4 separate regions of the Homo sapiens genome follow, and regions 1, 2 and 3 are each linked to region 4. Evidence: promoter capture Hi-C in 16 types of primary human blood cells and fetal thymus (Javierre and others, 2016). All regions are on one chromosome and are shown on one strand. The core of a region is centred on a gene start or on the middle of the fragment in contact, and the rest is flanking DNA. Distances in the headings are between cores, read along the strand shown. Region 1 holds the start of LNX2 (ligand of numb-protein X 2). Region 2 holds the start of RNF6 (ring finger protein 6). Region 3 holds the start of PAN3 (poly(A) specific ribonuclease subunit PAN3). Region 4 holds the start of HSPH1 (heat shock protein family H (Hsp110) member 1).

Region 1 (5,792 bases), core at 3,293-5,792, 3.5 Mb before region 4:
TGAGCCAAATCTGAGTGACCATGGCCCATGACACAGCCTTCAGGAGGTCCTAAGAACATGTGCCCAAGATGGTAGGGGTGCAGCTTGGTTTTATACATTTTAGGGAGGCATGAGACATCAATCAAAAAATTTTAAGAAATACATTGGTTTGGTCCAGAAAGGTGGGACAATTGCAGGGGGTCGGGGGTGGGGTGGGGGGTTGGGGGGGGTAGCAGGGAGTGCCATTCCAAGCCATAGGTAAATTTAAACATTTTCTGGTTGACAGTCGGTTGAGTTTGTCTAAAGCCCTGGGATCAACAGAAAGGAATGTCTGGGTTAAGACAAAGGATTGTGGAGACCCAAGTTCTTACTTTCAGAGGAAGCCTTCAGGTAGTAGGCTTCGATAGGTGGTAGTAAAACGTTTCTTATCGGACTTAAAGTCTATGTTAATGTTAATGTCAGAGAGGTATAACAAGTCATGTCCGACCTCCACTTCCCACTCATGGCCTGAAACTGTCTCTCAGGTTAAATTTTAAAAGACCCCTGGATGAGGAGGAAGTCCATTCAGATGGCTGGGGAGAGGGGGAAGCTTAGAATTTTATTTTTGGTTTACAATACATTAATATTTGTTTAAGTACTTAGGGATTCTGCAGTTAGCAAAATAGATAGGATCCCAGCTCTAGGAAGCACACATTCTAAAGGATAGAACCTACAACACCTGCTTCTTTAAAAGCATACTAACTAGAGGACAATTTATTATTGTAATGTCATGAGCACTTGCTTGTTAAAAAATTCCTTTTTTGAGATGGAGTCTAGCTCTATCACCCAGGCTGGAGCGCAGTGGCGCAATCTCAGCTCACTGAAACCTCTAGCTCCCGGGTTCAAGCGATTTCTCCTGCCTCAGCCTCCTGAGTAGCTGGGATTACAGGCACCTGCCACCACGCCCAGCTAATTTTCGTATTTTTAGTAGAGACAGGGTTTCACTGTGTTGGCCAGGCTGGTCTTGAACTCCTGACCTCGTGATCGCCCGCCTCAGCCTCCCAAAGTGCTAGAATTATAAGCGTGAGTCACTGCACCTGGCCAAAAAATTCCTCTTAATAACTTCTTAGAAGGCTAATACACAAAATAGCCACCTTTTCTGAATCCAACCAAACAAAATAACTTATTAACCACAGATTTTCCTACTGCTTTGTATTTTCTGAGGAAAAGAAACAGGTGCCAGGAAAGCTAAAAGGGATGTCTTTTGTAAGACTCTCAGGCCCTCCTACAGGGTCAATTTAGGTAGGCCTGCCCCAGTCTTCTAATTCTACATGCAAGATACATATGTATTACTTTTTCAAACAACACTGCTTCCTAAATAGAGGAGAACCTATGAAATGAGACCTGTGATTCTTTTTTAAAAACCTAGATGCATTTGGATAGAGGAAGGTGGGCCTGTGAACTCTAGCCCTGTAAGCAGGAAGGAAAGTTAAATAGTTCCTCATAATACAATTTAAAGATATCGGGTGGCAATTGTAAAGGAAAGAAAGAAGAGGGGAAGAAGGCCAAAGAGCCAACCAGATTACAAGAGCCTGGAGTCCTCCTTTCTTTGATGGTGGCCAAAATATATTTTAAGGATAGAAATGCCTAATATTCAATGTCAACACTTCTGATATCGCTCCACTGTGAACCCCTTCACCCTCCCCTTCCTCTAAATCTCTCATAAAGCTTACCATACTCATAAAGCCTTTCTGTGAACTCTTTTTCTTTTCTATTCTTTCCTAGCTCCTGTGAGACACAACTATCCAACAACTGCATCATGGATCTCTCAACCATCCATTTAGCACCTCCTTAGATTAGTCCAAAACTGAACTTATCTTCCCTTCTACACCTCTACCATCAATTGTTTTTAACTGCTCCTTCTCATATCCTCCAACATTCCACTAGCTCATTAATGTCATCATCTAAAGGAACAACTAATATTTACTGAGCACTTGGAATGTGCTAGGTACCCTGCCAAAGGCATTACATGCATAATTCCTCAAACCCTACTCAACAGGTACGACAATCATTTCCCAAATGTTAGGAAATCAAAGTTCTGTCAGGATAGTTATTCTAAGGGTAAGTAATAGAATTAGAATTTGACCCGTTTTAATTTCACAGCCAGCTTACCCAGTACATGTCAATCAATGCCTGAAGTCAAACAACCCAGGATTCATCCTTCCCTCCTTAAGCCTACCCAGTCACTTACCTAGTCCAGCCTCCTAGTCATACCTCTTAAACACCACGTCATTTCTCCTTCCACTGCCAGCACACTAGCATTTACTAAGTCCTTACTATCTGGCAATCACTATTCTAAGTAATAGACATGTTTTTTCAAGTTCTATCCCCCAAACTCTGAGATGACAAACCTAAGGAACAAAGAGGTTTCAGTGTATGACAGAGCCTGATTCCACCCCAGGTAATCTGAATAGAGAATCCCTGAGCACTTAACCCCTCCATTAGAACAGCCTCCAACTTAGTCTCCATATCGCCCATCTGGAAGCCCACCATCCTCCAGACGCTGCAGATATCTTTCTGGAATGCTTACCCGTTATCATGACATTCTCCTGCTTAAAATTAGCAGCTCAGTATCACTGACTGGATAAAGTCCAAATTTCTTAATCTGGTATAAAAAATCCTTCATTTTTCTGTTCAAGTCAATTCAGTAAATATTTTAGTGCCCAATGTAAGCAAGAAAAGGTGCCAAGTGTTCTGAAATGAATAATACATGTCCCTGACTACTACCTCCACCTCGGACACTGGGTCCTTCGGCCAGACAAGCCCATATGCAAAGCTCGTAATACAACAGCCCAAAGACACATACATTTATTTTTAAGTGGCCTGCGTGCTACGTGCCTACAATGTACGAAATCCCAAACCAATCTGAAGACTAAGTGCCTACGTAACACCTATTCTTACAGGTCTCCAGGCAGAAATGCTCCCTAAGTTCAAATTACTTCAGGGTAACTAGTGGGATAAAGGCATGGATCAGTTTCCAAATGAGAAAACTGGGCAAGAAGCAACCCCCGCCATCAATGGCTGGCATGCAGTAGGTACTTTATCAGTGGCTAAATGAATAAATAATGAAAAAATTTCAAAGTTGATGAGAGAAACAAGATATATGGAGAATGTAACACACAAGTGGGCCGAATTAAAAGTGATGTTATTCTACTTTGGTTCTCATTTGGCCTACTTTTACCCCATGGGAAAACTCACATGTGGGACTCGGACAAGCTAAAAAGCCAAAACTTTGTTATTCATGGCTCAACAAAGCTTTGACAAGCCAAAAAGGATACCAGATTCCCGCTTCCTTCTTTACCTGCCAAAGTCCATTTTCTAAAGAGGTGTGGGGGTGGGAATCAAATCTAGCAAAGTAAATAAAATTGATCTACTGAGATCCAACTTCATTAGTGCTGCATCGAAGTACATGCAAAAGAAATATCAAAACCTGTCCTGGGAAGAAGGCCAATTTACAAGTAAGTACTATTGCCGCAAGAATGTGAAATTCTTAAAGGCAGTTCCAATAAGCTGGAGCTCACAAGTGTTCCTCCTCCTGCACCGCCACCGCTTTTCACTCAACTTTGTTTCTGATTTCTGTGATTTTAAAAAGCATAATATACACAGCAAAGCCCATGCATAAGTGTACTTTAGCTCCTGGTACAAACGAACGTCTGGATTCATAAACTTAACGTAAACTGAAATACTAAAAGAAACACTACATGAGTCAAAAGTCCTTGTTTAAAACGTGGCATACAGCTTTGAAAAGCGAGTGATGTATTTCCTGAATGATGCTTTGTGTGCAACTGCTTCCAAATCAAGATTCATATTTTTAAATTACCCCCTGGAAGATGTCAAATCTCTCTCCCACCCTCTCCAGCCTAAAGAGAAAGGTGAGAATTCACAGGCAACAGGCTGGGGCGGAGGGAATGATCTCTCCCCATCCCTTTCCAGAGAACAAAACCCGATAAAGGCAGCTAGTGCCACTCTCATTGCCGACACCACACACACACAGAGGAAATTTAAACACTCACCCCACCTCTCCCTTCCCTTAAGAAGCAAACGACGCCAAGCTCTGCACCACGGTGGCCGGAACCAGCAAACGCTAACAGCCGGAGGCCGCCCGCCTCCCGGGCGCCTGCAGGCGGCGGGCACCGGGCGCCGACTCTCCCTCCTGGACCAGACCCACACCCGAGTCCACGCCAGCCCCGCAGCCCGGGCGAGCGAAGACAGCCGCGAAGGACCAAGGCTCCGGGGCGAGCTGTGGCGCCGCTCCGGCCGCCTCCCGGGGCGCGGCGCTGACCCACACCCAGCTGACGCCCGCACCTGAGGCGGCTGCCCGCAGCCAGCGAGAGGGCGCGCAGCGAGGCGGGCAGGGCAAAGTTACTCACTGGGAAAGCGCGGCTGCCCGGGCCGCGCACGGGCTCCTGGCGCCGCTGCTCGGCACCAGCTCCCGCTCTCCGCGGCCCGCTGAGGGAGCGGAGAGCCTGCCCGGCTCCGCTCCGCCAGGAATCGCCGCCGCCGCCGCCGCCGCCGCGGATTTCCTGGCAAAAAGCAAACTCCGGCCAAGACTTCACTTCTCAACCGCCCCTGCTGCCTTCCCGGGGGCAGCGCCAAGGCCGAGCGGCCCAACCCGCACCCGGGCCAATCGGAGGTAGCACAGGGCGGGAGGTGGGCGGACCAGAGGGCGGCTCCACCTATCCGAGAGCTCGGGAGGCGGGCCAGAAGGGACCCGTCACTCCCGGGTTAGAGTGAGACCACTCCGCCCTCGCCGCCCGCCTCCCCCACTCGCCCCGGGCTGTCCCCGCCGCCCGCCTGATTCCCCTGCGGAAGCCCCGCTGGCTAGGTGTCTGCGCGCACCCCCGGCCGCCGCCAAGAGTGGCACAGCTGGGGAAGGAGTGAACATCCAGAGGAATCGCGGGGCGGGGTGGGGGGAGGCCAGGAGAACAGGTGGCGCAGGGAAGCAGAAACGTAGTTGCGCTGGACAGCTGGAGTCGGGCAGGGTCGGGGCCAGCGGCGAGGGGACAAGAAGGGCCGATTCGAGAGGAAGCGCACCTGAGGGAGCACAGCGAAGGCCGGGACGCAGGGAGCTGGATGGAGAGCGAGCCTGGGCGGCGAAAGGTTGCCGAGGCGGGGGCTGGGCGCCTGGGAACAAAGGTGAGGGCGGGTTCCGCAGGTGAGGAGGTTTGAGGAGCCACTGGGGAGAAAGGGAAAAGGAAGTCTACAGCCGGAGAGGACGCGCTCTGGGGGTAGAAGGAATCCTAGGACGGAAAGGATAAGGTGGGAAACAGTTTTCTCCCAAACTCTCACTCCCCCAAAAGAGACATTTCTTTCTTGCCCTATTTTGACCCAGTTGAAAATGCAACTGCAAGCTCCCCGGTGAAACAAATACCGCCTTCAACCTTCGTATTCTGTGGTGACTCATCTCGCACGTGACCCCCCTCCCTCTTCAAGGTGTGTTGACCGACTACAGTTTAAGCCTGTCGTCCCACAAAAGGCCCGGGAGGGCCGGGGTCCCAGGAAGGGCCATCCTGGGTCAACACCGCCCCAGTTGGGAAGTCGGGCCGCTTTCGGACTTGCCACTGGGAAGGGAAGTGATTTGGGGGCGGCAGGTAAGGCCGCGCCCCTTCGCCATCACCTGGGGAAAGGTACCAGAGTTGAGCCGGGGCGCCCGCAGGCCTGTCTGGGCCTCGGGGTAAGGCGGCGCTGGCCCCGCCCCCTGCCCCTCCCGCCGCGAGTGGCCTCGCGTGGTCGCCCAGGTGAGCCGCGGGGCCGCGAGCCACCGCTCACCCCGC
Region 2 (5,561 bases), core at 1,439-3,938, 4.9 Mb before region 4:
TGATCTCGATCTAGACTGATTCATCCTGAGATTCCTGGCTTTCTGTTCAAACAATATAAACAACATTCAAGGTGTTAAGTCATGGACCACATTTGGCTTTGTATTTTTAACTTGCAGTTTTTCTTAATTTTTAAATGTTGTCCCCTACCCAAATACTGTATTTGCCAAATCTTGCAGTGAGAAGCTTACATATAAAATGAAAAACAGCTTCTAGGAAATACAACACAATTGGCACTTACTTCTTTGCCTAAAGCCATTAAGTCAGACTGGATTTGGGTTTACCACACAATGCTCATGCCTGAATACCATAGTGATTATCTCATTTTTGACCATGTTGACGATCTGGAAAAGTTGATCCAGAAGTCCTCATTTATGTTTCAGGATCTGGGTACTTCACATTAATTACAAATTTTAGGCTTGAATTATGCACATTCTTCACTTAATGAGCAAAGGGATACTGGGATGATATAATTTACATTTGTTTTCAGCAAGGTATTCTTTCCAAAATAAGGCTCATGAATGTAATATTATCCCCCACTGCACTTTGATGAGGTGAAAATCATTTAGCCTAATTAATATCTACTGAACAAACTGGAAGGTGGTCTCTTATTAAAGCTTACCAGGAAGACTTTGAAACCCAACAGGAAACAAGACATCATGTATGGCTCAAGGATTGTGAAAGTGCATCAGAGCACTTTGTATCACCCCATATCAAGCCTCATCCTTAAGCCTGGAATGGTTAGTCCCAGGAGTTTCAGAATGCCAGTGAAACTTCCTGACTTTGCCTAAGAAACCACTATTTTTGGATTATATTTAAGTGTCACTCCTGAGAAGCTCACTTTTAAATTACATGGAAATCAAGAGAGAAAGATGTTTGTTTCACAAATATTTTAGAATTTCTTAAATACATCTATTCAGTAAGTCACACTAAAGCAATGGTTCTCAAACTCACTTAAGGGTATTTTTAAAAATCTAGATGCCCAAATCTCATCCCCAATCCTTGATTAGAGTTTTCCAGGGTAGGACCAGGTCTGCTGTTAAGAGCTAATTTGGGTGTTCTGCAGATGAAATAAACTATTCCTCGACAATTTCTGGCATGTCACTAAAGGGTATGAGTAATACAGCACCTGACTCAGTAGAGGCTGGAGGCTCAAATGGCTAGGCTACCAGTGAAGCAACTGTGCAACTCTGCCTCTCGAAATACACTAGGTATTTAATAAGCAAGCTGCTTTAAATATAAGGTGAAATTAGCCTACAAGTCTAAAATACTGTTGGAGTAAGCAACTATTCAATTTCACCTGTAACACTAAATTACAAATTCAAGGATTTTTTTCACTGTGGTTATTTTATTATGTCATTTTGAACAAATGACCTAGTAACATTATCCACTCAAATATGAATTAACACTACTAAAAACTCAAGATCTCTATCTTCAGATTAAGACCATAATTAGCAAAGAGCATATTTCGTAGGTACAGCAATAATAGGATTTTTGTAATAAATAATTTTACAAGTTGAAGCCTATCATAAAATCAAGTTACCCTAATATTATTTAAAACTTGAGCTTCTCCTTAAAGGTAATTTTCTTATACAGTTAATCACAATGAAAACAAAGCGAATACCTTATTTTCCTTTCAACACGCTTTTAACATATGCCATGGTATCCATCCTTCAATTGTTTGTGCCTTTTTTGAGAGCTGCCCATCTGAAGCAATAAAAGAGAGTTGAATAATTCAATAAACTGTTTCTTTAAAGGCCAGGAACGGGTGGTAGTCTCCCCACTCTGCTGCAAAGCCAAAGCAAATTCTCCAGTGGATTTTGTTAGACACATCTAGAAAATTAGATCCCCATACAATTAGGTCACGAAAACCTCCCGCAAGGCCCCTACCTTCCGCAACAAACTTAGGCCTTTCGTCCTACACTGTCACTGTTCCTGGGTTTACGCCTCCTCTCTCAAAGGCCTTCCTTCCTATCCCGTTCCCATTCGGATGTTACCAGGGTTAGGCGTCTCCGGCTTACTTCTAAACCTTGACTTTCTTGCCACCCCCGCCCTCCGTCCCGCTACTGGTTTCTTTCCCGGCCGTTGCGACGGAAGCTCGCGCCGGGGGACGATCCCCACTACGATAAATAAAGTGGGCTCAAGAGGCCCAACCAACCTCTTCCCAACCGAGCCTCAAGTAACGCTTCCCTTAGAGACCTAGATTCTCACAAGGAAGCAGGTGATAGACGGTGCATCCCAACCAATCACCAGCCAGCGGAGCGCAATAAGAAGGCAGTTAACCAATCGGAGAAGAGATGGGTGGCTCGAAGGATGGCCTGCTTTCCCCGGCGTCTCCAGGAAGTAGTGGTGGGACCCAGATCTTTCCCTCGAGCCCACCTCTCCAGGTCTTGGGCCTTCGCCCTCCTGTCCGGAGAACGTGTGCTGTGGGCGGCCGTTCTCTCGGGTGCTGGAGGCTGTGGTTGGGAGGCGGGATAGGCTTGCCGCCGCGCCTCCGGAGCCCGCTGTGCCCTCGAATTGGCCACTGAGGAGAGAAGCCGGAAGCCCGTGCTGCAGCGTGGGGTCGTCCAGCTGGAGGGGATACTCGGGAGGAAGAACGGCAGGCCCCAGCCCTTCTTTCCCGACAGCCACGCCGCCCACTTGGCGGCGGGGAGTCGCTCCGCAGCCGGCCCGGAGCTCGCCCGTGCAACTGAAAACTGCGTCCGTCGGGAGCTAGGGTGCCTGGCGTCCCGCGTTCCGCCCTCTTGCGCCGCCCTTACAGTGCCTCCTCCTCGAGGCCAAATGCCCGGCCGCTCAGCGCTCGTGGCAGCCGCGTAGTTGCAGAGACACGGTCTGCTTTCCAGGCTTGGGAAGTCCCAGCACTTAACTCTGCGCGTCGGTGTCGCTCGTTTGCCAGCCAGACTATAAAGTGCACCCAACGGTGTATGCGTCTCTTTACTTCCGGGTGTAACGTACTACCCAGCCAGGCCCTTTCCCTTGCTGTGCTTTGGAACCTGGAAATTACAAACCCTAATAAATTCTGAAGTCTGTCTGTCTGTCTATCTCTATTTGAGACAAGGTCTCATCCTGTCGCCCAGGCTAGAGCGATCGTAGCTCACTGCAGCCTCCAGCGATCCTCCCTCCTCATCCCAGTAGCTGGAACTACAGGCGCTTGCCATTAATTTCACATTTTTTCTTTTGTAGAGACGGGGGTCTCGCTATGTTGCCCAGGCTGGTTTCGTACTCGGCCTCAAGCAATCCTCTCACCTCAGCAAAATGGGATTACAGGCATGAGGCACCGCACCCCACTATATTTTGTGTTTTTTCACCTTCCCGCTAGGAAAGCAGTTTGAAACTCCCAACATTCCTCCCTCTGATTTTATTTCTGAGATGTGAGGCTTACTAAACTTACCTCACCGTTAGTTAAGATGCTGAGTAGGTCTCTGTCTAACCTGGTATAGTCCCCTTTCCTGACATCCCTACCATCTGATGACTTCATCACTGGAGAGTGCTCACAATGCCGTTACTTGTTATTCTTCCGTTTGTTCTTTCATTTCTGCATTAACTTTTGAGGAACTACCATATCCCCATTATTATGCTGGGCACCTGGATAACAAGCTACATGCAGTCCTTAGCATCAATGAGCTACCAGTGTAGTAAGGATCTATGGACAAGTGTTTAAAATAAGCATATGGATATGGATACTAAAATGGAAATATATAAAACAGCCTAGAAAGCCCTTCCAGATCTTTCTTCTGCTTACATTTACAGGCTGTTGTCTTGGCACTCCGAAACTGCTTGAAGTTCCGCCACAAGATATGGGAACTCCTAAGCAACCCCCAACTCCACTTTTACCTAATTTCCTCTGTCTCCCAAAACTCAGCTCAGTTCTCATCTTTAAGGAATTTTTCCTGATACCTCTGAAATAACACCCTTACCTCACCCTCCAGCCCGATATTTACACATAAAACTAAGCAAATGTCCCTTTTGGGGGCTCCCATACTCCCTCTATATATAAAACCCTATTTTAGCATGTATTCATGTATTTAACAAATAGTGAGTGTGACTATGTATTAGGTGCTGGTGATGACAGCCGTGAATCAGACAGTCATGTCCTCATAGAATGAAGTCCTTGCCCTCTTTTCCCATGGAAAAAGAGCCATTGAGCAAATACTTAAGATGATTTTCTGTTTTTAGGTCTTTACTACCTAGAGTCTGAACTGCTTAAGTGTGATCAAATGGTCTAATTCATTTTTGTAATCCCAGAACTTAGCACAGCACTTGGCAGAACATTCTCCTCAGCCTACTGCATAGATGAGCAGAGAAAAATGCAATCTTTTGGCAAACGGGATTAATGCACACAGTACAACGACTTCAGATATTGTGAACACACATCATAGAAAATAACAAGTAGAAATCATTTTTAATATCTGTGAATTTTGGAGAGTGCAATCAAATGCAATAATCCAAGTGCAAATACTTTTTACATGTTGAGTGGAAAAGACATATGTGTCTCTTCCTATTTTTCCTATTTCCTATTATATACCCTAAGAATAAAAAAAAAACTATTATAAAAATGTCTAAATAAAAATCCAATCAAGTGATTTACCAGGTAGGAAGTTGCAGGTTTTTGTGAGTAGAGAATCAGGTAATGTATGTAACTTGAATCCAACACCTTGCTTCAGTTTTTGTAGTCCAAGACAAAATGACTACAAAGAGGGGCTTAGATACAACAGCTGGAACAGACAGATGAATCATTCTGGATATCTACTCCAGGTCTCAGAACCTGCCAAGGTCTCTGGTCTAATTAATTTCTGTTTATTGGATTGGTACCTGGCCTTTGTAGTGTGTATGCCTCATGTAACTCCTGGACTTTTTACAATTAGGAATACAAAGATCTAAAATAATTAAAACCATAACATTAAAAGGATTCTCTGTATATCTGGTAAATTATGTACTTGTCATGTTTAAAAGATTTTGGCTTCATAAAACGACAGCCTTAATTACAATTTAAAACAAAATGGAGCACTCGATTTCAAGTTTTAAGTTGAAGTTGAAATCTTGCTAAGTTTATGGATGGCATCAGAGCAGCAAAGAGAAATATAGGCTCCCCATATTGTTTTATTATTAGTTTAAAAATTATTATATAAGATTTAAAGACGAAATTACATGTAACATTTGAAGTACTTGTGAATGAGATAAAATATTAAATGTATAAATACAGTTTAAAATGTTGGTTTGAAGATATTAAATATGTATATGAATGAGATTGAAAGTTAGTGAAGGGCTAATTCCAAATGACTGTTAAGATTTACTATACTTGACCAGGCACAGCTGCTCACACCTGTAATCCCAGCACTTTGGGAGGCCAAGGCGGGCAGATCATGAGGTCAAGAGATTGAGACCATCCTGGCCAACATGGTGAAACCCCATCTCTACTAAAATTACAAAAATTAGCTGGGTGTGGTGGCGCACACCTGTAGTCCCAGCTACTTGGGAGGCTGAGGCAGGAGAATCGCTTGAACTTGGGAGGCGGAGGTTGCAGTGAGCTGAGATTGTGCCACTGCACTCCAGCCTGGTAACA
Region 3 (5,921 bases), core at 1,900-4,399, 3.0 Mb before region 4:
ACATTTTATGAATAATTTATGGATTATTTGCAGTTTTGGATGTAATCTTCATTAACATGAAAATAACTTAGAGTTGACTACATATTTATTTTTAGTAAAGGAATACTCAACAATGAACCCTGCTTAAAAAGACAACCCTACTATAGGAATAAGTAGTTGTCTCCTAAAAAAGTGTGGAGATATGAAATGTGTGGCAAATAAGTTTATTTTTTATTTATTGACCGAGAGGGTCTCACTGCTGTGCAGGTTGGCATAAAATGGCGCCTTCAAAGCTCACTGCATCCTGGAACTCCTGAGCCCAAATGATCCTCTGCCTCAGCCTCCCCAGTAGCTAGGACTATAGGCAAGTGCCTCTACACCTGGCTAATTTTTAAATTGTTTTGTATAGACAGGGTCTTGCTAGTTTTCCCAAGAGGGTCTTGAACTCCCGGCCTCAAGTGATCCTCTTGCCTTGGCTTCCTTCCAAAGCAGTGAGGTTAGAGGTGTGAGCCACTGTGCCCTGCCATGTTGACTTTTAAAAACCCTGTAATAACTTCCAATTGTCCTCAAGAAAAAGTTCAATTCTTTTTTTTTTTTTTGAGATGGAGCCTTGCTCTGTCGCCCAGGCTAGAGTGCAGTGGTGCGATCTCACTGCAACCTCTGCCTCCCGGGTTCAAGCAATTCTTCTGTCTCAGCCTCCCGAGTAGGTGAGATTACAGGTGCCTGCTACCACACCCAGCTAATTTTTGTATTTTTAGCAGAGACGGGGGTTTCACCATGTTGGCCAGGCTGGTCTTGAACTCCTGACCTCGTGATCTGCTCGCCTCAGCCTCCCAAAGTGCTGGGATTACAGGCGTGAGCCACTGCGCCTGGCCAAAAGTTCAATTCTTTAACATGGCCCTACAAGGACTTTTGTGGACTCTGCTCCATTTTCCACTATCACTGTATTCTAACAATAAAAGCTGTTTGCCTAGAATGCTCTTTGACTATACACTGACTACCACTAGCAGCAATACTACTTTTTTTTCGAGATGGAGTCTCGCTCTGTCGCCCAGGCTGGCGTGCAATGACGAGATCTCGGCTCACTGCAACCTCTGCTTCCCAGGTTCAAGTGATTCTTATGTCTCAGCCTCCCCAGTAGCTGGGATCACAGGCGCTCGCCACCACGCCCAGTAATTTTTTTGTATTTTTGTAGAGACGGTGTTTTACCAGGTTGGCCAGACTGGTCTCGAACTCCTGATCTCAGGTGATCCACCCGCCTTGGCCTCCCAAAGTGCTGGGATTACAGGCGTGAGCCACTGCGCCTGGCCAATACTATTAATAATAGTTACAACCTACCGAATTCTTATTAGGCATGGGACAGTTTATATACATTATTAGTTATACTTTATGAAGTAGGTACTATTCTTAATCCAGGTGTACAGACAAGGCACAGAGAAATGAAGCAATTAACTGAGAGGAACACAGCTATTAAAGTGTAGGCACTTTAATCTGTTTCAATCCAGATCTGTCTGAATTCAATGATGTTCCCAAACTTGGAACATGAAAATATCAACTTTCTCCAAGAAGTCTGACATGTTTAATATCCTCTAATAGCAAATGTGATAAGGTTAGCACTTAAGACACTGGTTTACAACGGACCTGTGTACTTGATGCCTCCCCAACCGGAAGATAAGCCATCTGAACTCACTTAAGGCGGCATGTTCACTTTTGCTTCCCCAGCTCCACAGTTAAGTGTACCACAGTTTCTGGTACACGTAATGCGTGTTAATAAAGATTTGTTGAATAATCAAATAAGCGAAACTGCTTTTAAACAGAAAGCCATAATACAATGTTATTACCTTCGAATTTGGCTAGAGAACATCACCAAGCTTACCAGTTTGTGATCTAGACTCCACTTTTCCCCATTTTTTTCAGTGTGCTACTTTTGCTTATATCCATTCTTCTGTGACTTTGTTTGCCACAATTCCTTAAATACTTCCACCCCTCCTTTTCATAACAGCGATCTGCCGTTTGTGAACCTCTTTTACAGAGAAAAACTAGAATGTTACTTTTCCTTTCATAGCAATTCTTTAAAATTTCTGAAAGCCTTTAAAAGGGTATTAGCGCAAACATCAGAGATCGCTGAGGTTAAAACTATCTTTTAAAAATGAATTTCACCGTCTCAAAAAAAATAAAAATGAATTTCAAATCAAGGCTAGGCTGATTGGAGAAAAGCAACCTAGTATATTTATAAAGGTCTTCCAGTGCTGTCTAAGCAGTGTTGTCCCAGGTGGCATCCTATTTTTCATAATTTACCGAAGGCCCTTGGTAATATAAATACAGAGAATAACAGGTGCTGCACTGAGCAGGGGGTCTGTCTAAATCAACCTTTTTGGCTCCATTTTTTGACAAAGGGCCAAGAGGTTAGCGTAATCGGTCCAGTAGTTCTCATTACCTTCGAGGGGAAGGGGAAAGAGGAGAGGGGCGAAGAAAGGAAACGGGGAGAGGAAGTGTGGCAAATAGAAGATATTCTTCAGGTAGAGCCAGGGCTCGGGCCGCGTCCCCAGGTGGCCCCTCCAAACGACCGTTTACCTTGTCAATTTTCTCTTTTCAATGAAAAAAAAAAAAAAGACATCTGGCTTTTTAAGTAAGAGAATATACAAATAAGGAAGGTATCAGGTCTCGTGAGAATTCGGCGCCAGATCCGCGTCCGGAACCCCACCGAGAGCCGCCGGTCCAACCGCCGATAGCTCGCGGATGCCCCCGGGGGCCCGACGCCGGCCAGGCTTCCCCTAGCGCTCCCGCTACCCATAAGCCCTCGCGTCTCAGCGCGCACGCGCAGCGGCGACGGCCGTCTCAGGAAGAGGAAAATGGAATAAACAACTCGGAGGAACCAGAGCGCGAGAGAGCGAGTGGAGGCAGAATTTAAAAATAAACCGGCCCCTCCGCCTTCCCCACCCGCTTGCCGCTGCCGCTCCCTCTTCCCCTGCCCGCGCCCTCGAAGTCCCCGTCTGGGCCCGCGCGCTCACCCCGTCGTCCCGCGCGGCCCCTTTAAGAAAAGAGAACGAGAGAGTGAGTGAGAGAATCCCAACTCTCCCCCTACCCTCCCTCCTTCTACCCCCTCCTCCCTCCCCTCTCCCCTCCCCCTTCTCCCCGGGCGGCTCCGGCTCCCGCAGCGGGACAGACCCACCCGCCCAGGCTTTTATCCGGCACCGGCAGCGTCTTCCTTTCCTCCCCCGTCTATGGTGGTGGCGGCGGCGGCTCCTCGGGCGGCGGCGGAAGACGAGGCTGCGGCGTTGCCATGAACAGTGGCGGCGGCCTCCCGCCCCCCTCGGCCGCCGCCTCCCCTTCCTCCTCCTCGCTGGCGGCGGCGGTGGCGGTGGTGGCCCCGCCGGGGGTCGGGGGTGTCCCCGGCGGGGCGGCGGTAGGAGTGAAGCTGAAGTACTGCCGCTACTACGCTAAGGATAAGACTTGCTTCTACGGGGAGGAGTGTCAGTTCCTGCATGAGGACCCTGCCGCCGGGGCTGCCCCGGGCCTCGGCCTCCATAGCAACAGCGTCCCCCTGGCTCTGGCTGGTGCACCCGTGGCCGGCTTTCCGCCGGGAGCCGTCGCGGGCGGGGGAGCTGGGCCGCCCCCCGGGCCCAAGAAGCCGGACCTGGGGGACCCGGGGACCGGAGCCGCAGCCGGCGGAGGAGGCAGTAGCGGGGGACTCGATGGACCGCGGCTGGCAAGTGAGTGTTTTTCGGGCGGGGCGGGCCGCGGCGGCGGAGGGCAGGCCTGGGCCGGATGAGGCCCTGCTGCCGACGGGAGCTGAGCACGGCCCGCGGGCTCCCCCCCTCACCTCCCAAGGCGGTCTGAGAGGCCTAGGCCGGGCCTGAGCCCTCCTTCCTTCTTCCTGCTTCCCCTCCCCACTGCCTTCGGCAAGTCGGAGAGCGCGGGGAGGTTGGGTTCCCGGGAACGTGGGTGGGAGGACTGGGGTGATGTGAAGGGGGGGCGGGGAGGAAGGGGGATGGGCTGTGGCGTGCGGAGTGTGAGAAAGGGGGTGTCGTTTCCGGGGGGTGTGGAAAGGGGCTGGGTTTGCAGGCACATGTGTTTTGCGTGTCCTTGTGGAGTGGCGTCTGCAGAGTGTTGAGGTTCCCTAGTGGGGAGGGGTGTGTTTGTGTGTGTGTGTGTGTGTGTGTGTGTGTGTGTGTGTAGGGGGCGGGAGGTGAGGGGCGGGCTTAAGGCTTCGTGGAGTAGGTTGAAAGAACGGAAAAAGTTTGTAGAAGGCTTGCGGGAGAAAGGTTTTGCAGGCAGGAAATGCTTTCTAAGGATTAGGAGGGAGCGGACTGTCGCGTTCAAAGTGTGCTCAGGTTTAATCGAGAGTTTAGAGTAGGGATTTCACAAAGACGCATTTCATCTGAGTTTCCCTGAAAGCTAGAATAAGTTTGCTGGTGTCAGCTGGGATCCTGTCTTCTATAGCTTTGTATCAAGCAAACTCAGCATTGTGTCTTGAATGCATGTCATGTGCAGCCTGCGTTTATGTGCGACTGAGCACTTGGGTGGGGACATCTTAAGGCTGTTTATATTTCTTTTTCATGTGTTGTTGTTGTTGTTGTTGTTGTTGTTTTGGAGAGAGTCTCGCCCTGTCGCTCAGGCTGGAGTGCAGTTGCGCGATCTCAGCTCACTGCAACCTCCGCCTCCCGAGTTCAAGCGATTCTGTTGCCTCTGCCTACGGAGTAGCTGGGACTACAGGCGCGCGCCACCACGGCCAGATAATTTTTTGTAGTTTTAGTTGAGATAGTAGTCTCGTTGTGTTGGCCAGGCTGGTCTCAAACTGCTGGCCTCAAGTGATCTGTCCTCCTCAGCCTCTCAGTGTGTTGTTATCTATTGACCTGAAGCTTGTTAGTTGTTAGTGGAGTTTACAATTGAATGTGAGCGTAATCTGTTAGAGAATGTTGCCTTTACGAATAGAGCCGGTGCCAGATGTCCCTGTTTTGTTTCTTAGTATATTGAGCGTTTCTAAACCAAATAGGAGTCCTACTTTCTTGGGAATTCTGGAGAACTAGATCTTAAAATAATCTGATAGGCAGTTCAATTTGTACATGAGAACATTTTGTCTTTTTCTTAAACACTGTTAATGAACCTGATAGGAAGTTTTAGCATTTAATTGGTCTATGAGGATTATTTAATATCTTCCCCGGGGTTTTGCTTTCTTGCTTTTTCTTTCGAGACGGGATCTTCCTATGTTGCCCAAGCTGGCCTGGAACTCCTGGGCTCAAGCGATCTTCCTGCCTGGGCCTCCCAAAGTGCTGGGATTACAGGAGTGAGGCACCATGCTGGGCCAAGTGTTGTTCTGTTCTGTTCTTTTCTCCTTTCTCTCTTCTTTCTTTTTCTTTTATAGAAGTGTTTCATTTGTTGTGATGGGCTTGACTTTAATGAAGATATATTTGCTAAGGCTGATAATGCTAAGAAAATTAATTTTGTAAATTCAGATGTTTTGTAAAACAAATGGTTACTTATGGGTGGAATTTTATCACTTTCGAGCATCAACTTTGCATTTTCAGGTTAAAGTTTTGCTGGATGTGTGAGTCGTGACTCAGTAGTAATGTTTGATTAGTAACCAATGACACTGAACAATAGTTTTCTTACTGACAGAAAGAGACACTTTTTTTTTTTTTTTTTTTGAGACGGAGGCTTGCTTGTCGTCCAGGCTGAAGTGCAGTGGTGCGATCTCGGCTCACAGCAACCTCCACCTCCCAGGTTCAAGCAATTCTCCTGCCTCAGCCTCCCAAGTAGCTGGGTTTTACAGGCATGCGCCACCACGACCGGCTTATTTTTGTATTTTTAGTAGAGACGGGGTTTCGCCATGTTGGCCAGGTGGGTCTCGAACTCCTGACCTCAGGTGATCGTCCCGCCTCGGCCTCCCAAAGTGCTGGGATTACAGGTGTGAGCCACTGTGCTGGCCAGAAAGAGGCACT
Region 4 (5,295 bases), core at 2,610-5,109:
AAAAAGTAGAAGGCAGAAGAGTAATTCAACAAGTTTCTAAGTGACCTAATGTTTTCAACTGCATGTGCGTATTCTGAAGACTTGAGAGCCATGGTTTTTAAAAACAAGAAATTGAACTGCTATCTTACACAACTGGCGCACGTTTGTTAAACTGTTGTAAAAGATGGTGTTTTTTTAATCCACCGTTTTGGTCAAATATTTTAGGTAAACTCTAGATTGAAAAGCCCCACTTCAGAGCACATTTCACTCAAGGGTACCTCATTTGAAACAAGAAATAACTGTAAGATTGAAAACTAAGACTTCTGAAATTATTAGCTTAAAAATACCAAAACAGTATATTATTTACTTTTTCTCTTACCTAATTTTTTGAATAAAGGGAAGAATACAGTTAGCTTGGCAGTACTAGTTTTCAAACAATATAGAATTCAAGCAAGTTTAGGTCTTAAAATTCCTTATGTGTCTAAAACTGAGATGAAGTATGTCTAGTAGTATACTGGCCAAATATGAGTCTCAACAGATTCTTCTCAAGTAATCACAAGGATGCAACAGAATTTTAGGTCTAGGCTATCAATATCCTCAATGGGCACATTTAAAGGATTGTTACAACTAAAGTCCCACTATCCTTTTGAACATATTTTGAGTGTGCCTATTTCTCCTTTCCTTTTTCACCCCTTTTAGTTATCTCTCTCTTCCAATGTAACAAGGAAATAAAGTTAAATCCAACCTACATATTCAAAGGATTAGAAAACATGAAACCATTTTCTAATGAAAGCAGATTCATAAGTTTGATAAAGTGCCAATTTCTTATTAAACATAAGCATTTTAAGAGATGTTTTTGTTTTCAAATCTGACCTGATTTTTTAATAGGTCAGTACTAAATACATTCCATAATATATAATACAGTACTCAATCTAATCCAAAATTTTCTTTCTTAGCAATCTATTTTCTGTATTTAGAAAAATGTTTTTTATTTCAAAGAGCCTCTCAAAGAGCATTTCACGTATCTTTTACTGTTTTTCTCTCCACCTCCAAGGGGTCTGTCTAGATCAGTGCTGTTCAACAGAATTATATGTAAGTCATAAAGGAGAGCTACCTACATAAAATTTTGTAGCAGCCACGTTAAAAACTGGTAAGAGATTAGATTAATTTCAATTAACTTAGGCCAATATATTTTAGGAACTATCACTTCAATAAGTAGTCAACAGAAAAAAATTGATCAGATACCGTACTTTACTTTTCAATTCGATTAAAAAGTAAAAAATCTCATGTGTATTTTATACTTCACATTTTGATTCAGACGAGCCACATTTCAAATGCTCAATACAGTACATGGCTACCATATTTTTTAAACAGCACAGGTCTGGACAAAAATTTCTCCCAGTCCTACCTTAATTACTAAGTAACCTGAAAATGCTTTTAAACACATAATTTCTTAGAAGTTCCTTCTATAAAAGGAATCTCTTAAATGAGTATCACGAGAAACTTCACAAGAACTTAAAATGCCTTGTTTATAATTTCTAAAAATTAGATAAATGAAAGGCAGCAAAAAGTTACTAAAAGTTAAAGTCAGCAGGCCAGGCGTAGGCTCACACCTGTAATCCCAGCACTTTGGGAGGCTGAGACAGATGGATCACGAGCTCAGGAGTTCGAGATCAGTCTGACCAACATGGTGAAACCCCATCTCCACTAAAAATACAAAAACTAGCTGGGCGTGGTGACACGCGCCTGTAATCCCACCTACTCAGGAGGCTGAGGCAGGAGAATCGCTTTAACCCGGGAGGCGGAGGTTGCAGTGAGCCGAGATCGCGCCACTGCACTCTAGCCTGGGTAACAGAGCGAGACTCTATCTCAAAAAAAAAAAAAAAAAAAAAAAAAGTTAAGGATGGCAGATTAGAAAGTTAAAGTCGATCTTAATAAAACAAGGGAAAGGGAACAGAAAGGAAAGAGTGTCATCATCTGAAGGTTCATAAAGAATACTTGAATTACATTTTTAAAACTCAAAAATACATAAACTTAGGCACACTTTACCCTCTTATATGTCTCTTGAGATTTTCCTTTTAAAAACTCCCCCCTTAAAAAGTGATCCGAATTCTCTTAAAGAACATACCTGATTTTTGGCTGCAACTCCGATTGTTCTATTTTTTGATCCAAATGATATGACTGACCTAGAAAAAAATATATTCCAAAAAATTAAAAAGCATAAAGGTTGATATTTTAAACTGATAAGAGAAAAATACTAACATAAATGTCCTACCCATTAGGGGATAGGGAACAAGCATAGCACAATTTTAAGGTCTATAGCTTTCATCAGATACTCAAAGGGGGCTTCCACTTAATTGCTGCTCTGAGATCCAACCTAGGTGGCAGTTCTACTACCCCAAAAACCTCTGCTCGTGGCTCAGGAATTCTCCAGGTTCCAGTTATTATGAACCGAACATTAACTTTGAAAATGTTTTAAATATGTTAACGGTATTATTAATTTGACCCTACACACGACTAACAAAAAATAGGATGTGACTCTACCTTTCAGTCACCAACTCTGTACAAATCTAAATGTCATTGTCATACCGACTTTTGTTCTGATATACCACCGGCTTCTTTAGGAATCAAAAGTTTTTATGCAAACGCAAGCAAATGAACCCAAGTTACACCTCTGAAGTTTAAAGAGCACAAAGAGGTTCCCATCTGGGAGATTCTGCCGGAGAAAGAAAAAAATGATGCACAACAAGTACCATGGCAAAACAGAATATAAATGTCGAGGGAAAGGAGTGACTAATCAGTTACATCAAATCTGTTTTGAAGAGATGGAAAGTGACTTACAACTGTGAAACAACCTTCTCAGCCACCATGGAAATGGAACCGCACAATAACAGAGCAGAGACTAGCTTAAAAAGTCTTGTGAGAAGAAGGTAAGTGAATTAGGTTTTGGATTAGAGGAGTTATCTAATTCTGGATTACTAATTCAAATATAATCTAATTTTGGGTGAGTTACTCCTACCTGCTTAGGTATGAGTAATGGTAAACGAGATGAGCAAAACGGGAAAATACTGAGGGCATTAAGTACCACCCTTAAGTTTAAATTTGCTATAATAGAAACATCCTCAAACTATATTATCTGAGCAAGTGTTAAATAAAATAGCATCCTAAAAGCCAGAGAAGTGTCCAAGCAGAAGCTAGACAAGAAACCGTCAAAATCAGAGCATCACTGTAAGCTCTGAATAACCATACACTTGCAGAATGGATCTACTCATTTTCCTAGGGGAGAATCAAATTAATTGTACTAAATAACAATTAGTAGCTGATACAATAGAATCCACCACAATTATAGTTTAACAAACATATTAAGGGGAACTCCAATACTGCCCTCAGTTCACATTTTTCAGGGCCATACCTGTTGTCTTTGATTTCACACAGTAGTCCCTGTATAACACAATTTTTTTTCCCACTCTCTTCTCTGAAAAGCTTTTCTTTGTTTTATTGGATCAACCAGAACAAAGTATAAACTGTATCTAGGCATGAAAGCCTGAAATACTGTTTTCTTTCTTACTAAACTCCAATTAAAAAAACCTTAACCAAAACACAAACTTAGATCTGCAGGGGTAGACGTACAGGTTGCTCAGAACAGTCTTCCTAACGTTACTAACATTGCCAAATATTTTGCCTCAGATTTTCCACTCAACTTTCATAAACGTTCTCAGCACCCAAATAATTGTATTACCCCAGTCATTCATTCTACCTTTAGGTTCAATGTTTTCATTTTGCACTTTTCATCCTGAGCTTGGGACATTTGAAAAAAATTAATAGGTACAGTATTTTCCTTGAGATGAAATCATTTGTTTTCATCAATGCACATGCAGATATGTTTGTATATATTCTCGTCCGAAAATATCCCTTCACGAAACTTGCTTTTTAAAATGTTGCCCTTTGCCCACCCTATGCTCCTATAGAATATTTAGTTCAGTGACGACATCCATCCTCTTTTGGCGTCCTAGCACAAAAGTATGCAATTTTTATTCTCTTTTAAATAAACTGTGCAAAATTAATTTTAAAAATACGGTTTACAATTCCTCATGAATGGCAAAGAGCAAAAAAAAAGACGTTTACATCTTTCGACAATGATCCCGGGCATTAAGGCCAACAATGTTAGCAACGAAGAGACTGGGTAAAAAGAGGTGGGCTAATCTTTCATAGGACTGCTTCCGTGGTCGCTAACAACAATCCGCCTGCTCACTGGACAAGCAGCGACACAAGCTCTGGAAGCTTCCAGTTCATTTCGAGATTCACAATGCGGAAGAAAAAGGCCGGCAGCCCCGCTCCGCGGTGCGCAAAGATATGCGCGAAGGGAGGAGGACAAGCTGGAGGCGGCTCAGCCAGCTCAGAGAGGCCGGGTGGGGATACGGGGGCGGCCGCGGAAGGCGCAGGCTGCAGCCTGCCAAGAAAAGGGAGCGAAGTTGCGGGCTTTGCCGCAGCCCGACCCCCAGTAGGTTTTGAAAACCCCCAATAGGAAGCCCGCACAAGGTGACGACCCTTAGAGTCTCGACTCTGGGACTCCTCTCACCCCCGTGAATCCCTGAGACAATCCCTTCTCCAATTTGTGATGGCAAGCCCCCCATCCCTCCTCTGGCCGGGTCGCTGGTCCCTAGTTCCACGGAGGGGTGCGCCGCTGCCCAAACGCCTCCGTTTGCCGCGGTGATCCGTACAGCCAGCCCGCGATCTTGGGTCCCCACACTAAGGGCCCAGAACCTCCTCCCATCCACCCTCGCAGACTCCCACTTACGGGGTGCACCGGTCGCTGAACTCATTGGCGATGGTCTCGATGCCCCCGGCCCGGGCTACCGCGATGTAGCAGCTCTGCGAGCCCACGTCCAACCCCACCACCGACATGGCCGGCTCGCGGTCCGCCTCCGCCTCGGGTCTCGGTCTGCGTCCTCCGGCCCCCTGCCTGCTTCTCCTGCCGCCGCTTTCTGCCCTGGCCGCGTTCTGCTCCGGCCCGCGGGGTCTGGCCGTTCCTCTGACACTCAGAAGGACACACAGACAGCCGCGGCCTGTCAGGAGCCTCCTACTCCCCCGGGGACAGCGGCGGCTGGCTGATAAGAAACCCTGGGAGAAAGCGGGGCTCAGCCTCCGCAGGTCGCTCCGCACCTCGGGTTGCCTGCCTCACTCTGCCGCGGCTCGCACACCGGCGCCGGCGCTGAACTACCGACCCAAAAGGGGAGGTCCCACTTCCTCAGCCTTATGTATCGCACTGATCAGAACTTTCCAGAATCTGCGGCATTTACTCACCGGCGCCTCCAC

Evidence for each region. The method cuts DNA at HindIII sites, captures the fragments that hold promoters and counts their contacts. A CHiCAGO score of 5 or more calls a contact.
Region 1: the fragment with the promoter of LNX2 here is called in contact with a fragment that was not itself captured in region 4 in 1 of 17 cell types (fetal thymus); the score reaches 5.8 in fetal thymus.
Region 2: the fragment with the promoter of RNF6 here is called in contact with a fragment that was not itself captured in region 4 in 2 of 17 cell types (total B cells and neutrophils); the score reaches 8.9 in total B cells.
Region 3: a contact is called between the fragment with the promoter of PAN3 here and a fragment that was not itself captured in region 4, in 2 of 17 cell types (non-activated CD4 T cells and activated CD4 T cells). The highest score is 7.1, in non-activated CD4 T cells.

What each region holds. Positions count from the first base shown.
Region 1 is chr13:27,615,987-27,621,778 of GRCh38, forward strand. LNX2 (ligand of numb-protein X 2) reads right to left here and starts at 4,543. Exons shown (of 10, transcript NM_153371.4): 1 at 4,389-4,543. It also overlaps a transcript of POLR1D not described here. RefSeq lists silencers at 4,093-4,982, 5,603-5,792 and an enhancer at 4,571-5,299. The HindIII fragment of the contact is 4,924 bases long and covers 3,272-5,792 here.
Region 2 is chr13:26,219,626-26,225,186 of GRCh38, forward strand. RNF6 (ring finger protein 6) reads right to left here and starts at 2,689. Exons shown (of 5, transcript NM_005977.4): 1 at 2,378-2,689; 2 at 1,623-1,705; 3 at 1-42. The coding sequence starts at 24. RefSeq lists enhancers at 1,461-2,342, 2,343-3,224, 2,370-2,749 and a silencer at 1,870-1,919. The HindIII fragment of the contact is 7,611 bases long and covers 614-5,561 here.
Region 3 is chr13:28,135,396-28,141,316 of GRCh38, forward strand. It overlaps PAN3 (poly(A) specific ribonuclease subunit PAN3), which reads left to right and starts at 3,150. Exons shown (of 19, transcript NM_175854.8): 1 at 3,150-3,692. The coding sequence starts at 3,263. PAN3-AS1 (PAN3 antisense RNA 1) reads right to left here and starts at 3,779. Exons shown (of 2, transcript NR_029383.1): 1 at 3,152-3,779; 2 at 1,448-3,010. RefSeq lists silencers at 2,995-3,104, 3,295-3,374, 3,415-3,814 and an enhancer at 3,897-4,191. The HindIII fragment of the contact is 2,991 bases long and covers 1,849-4,839 here.
Region 4 is chr13:31,156,699-31,161,993 of GRCh38, forward strand. It overlaps HSPH1 (heat shock protein family H (Hsp110) member 1), which reads right to left and starts at 5,206. Exons shown (of 18, transcript NM_006644.4): 1 at 4,778-5,206; 2 at 2,108-2,165. The coding sequence starts at 4,884. RefSeq lists enhancers at 4,300-4,845, 4,846-5,295, 5,003-5,082, 5,213-5,295. The HindIII fragment of the contact is 798 bases long and covers 3,461-4,258 here.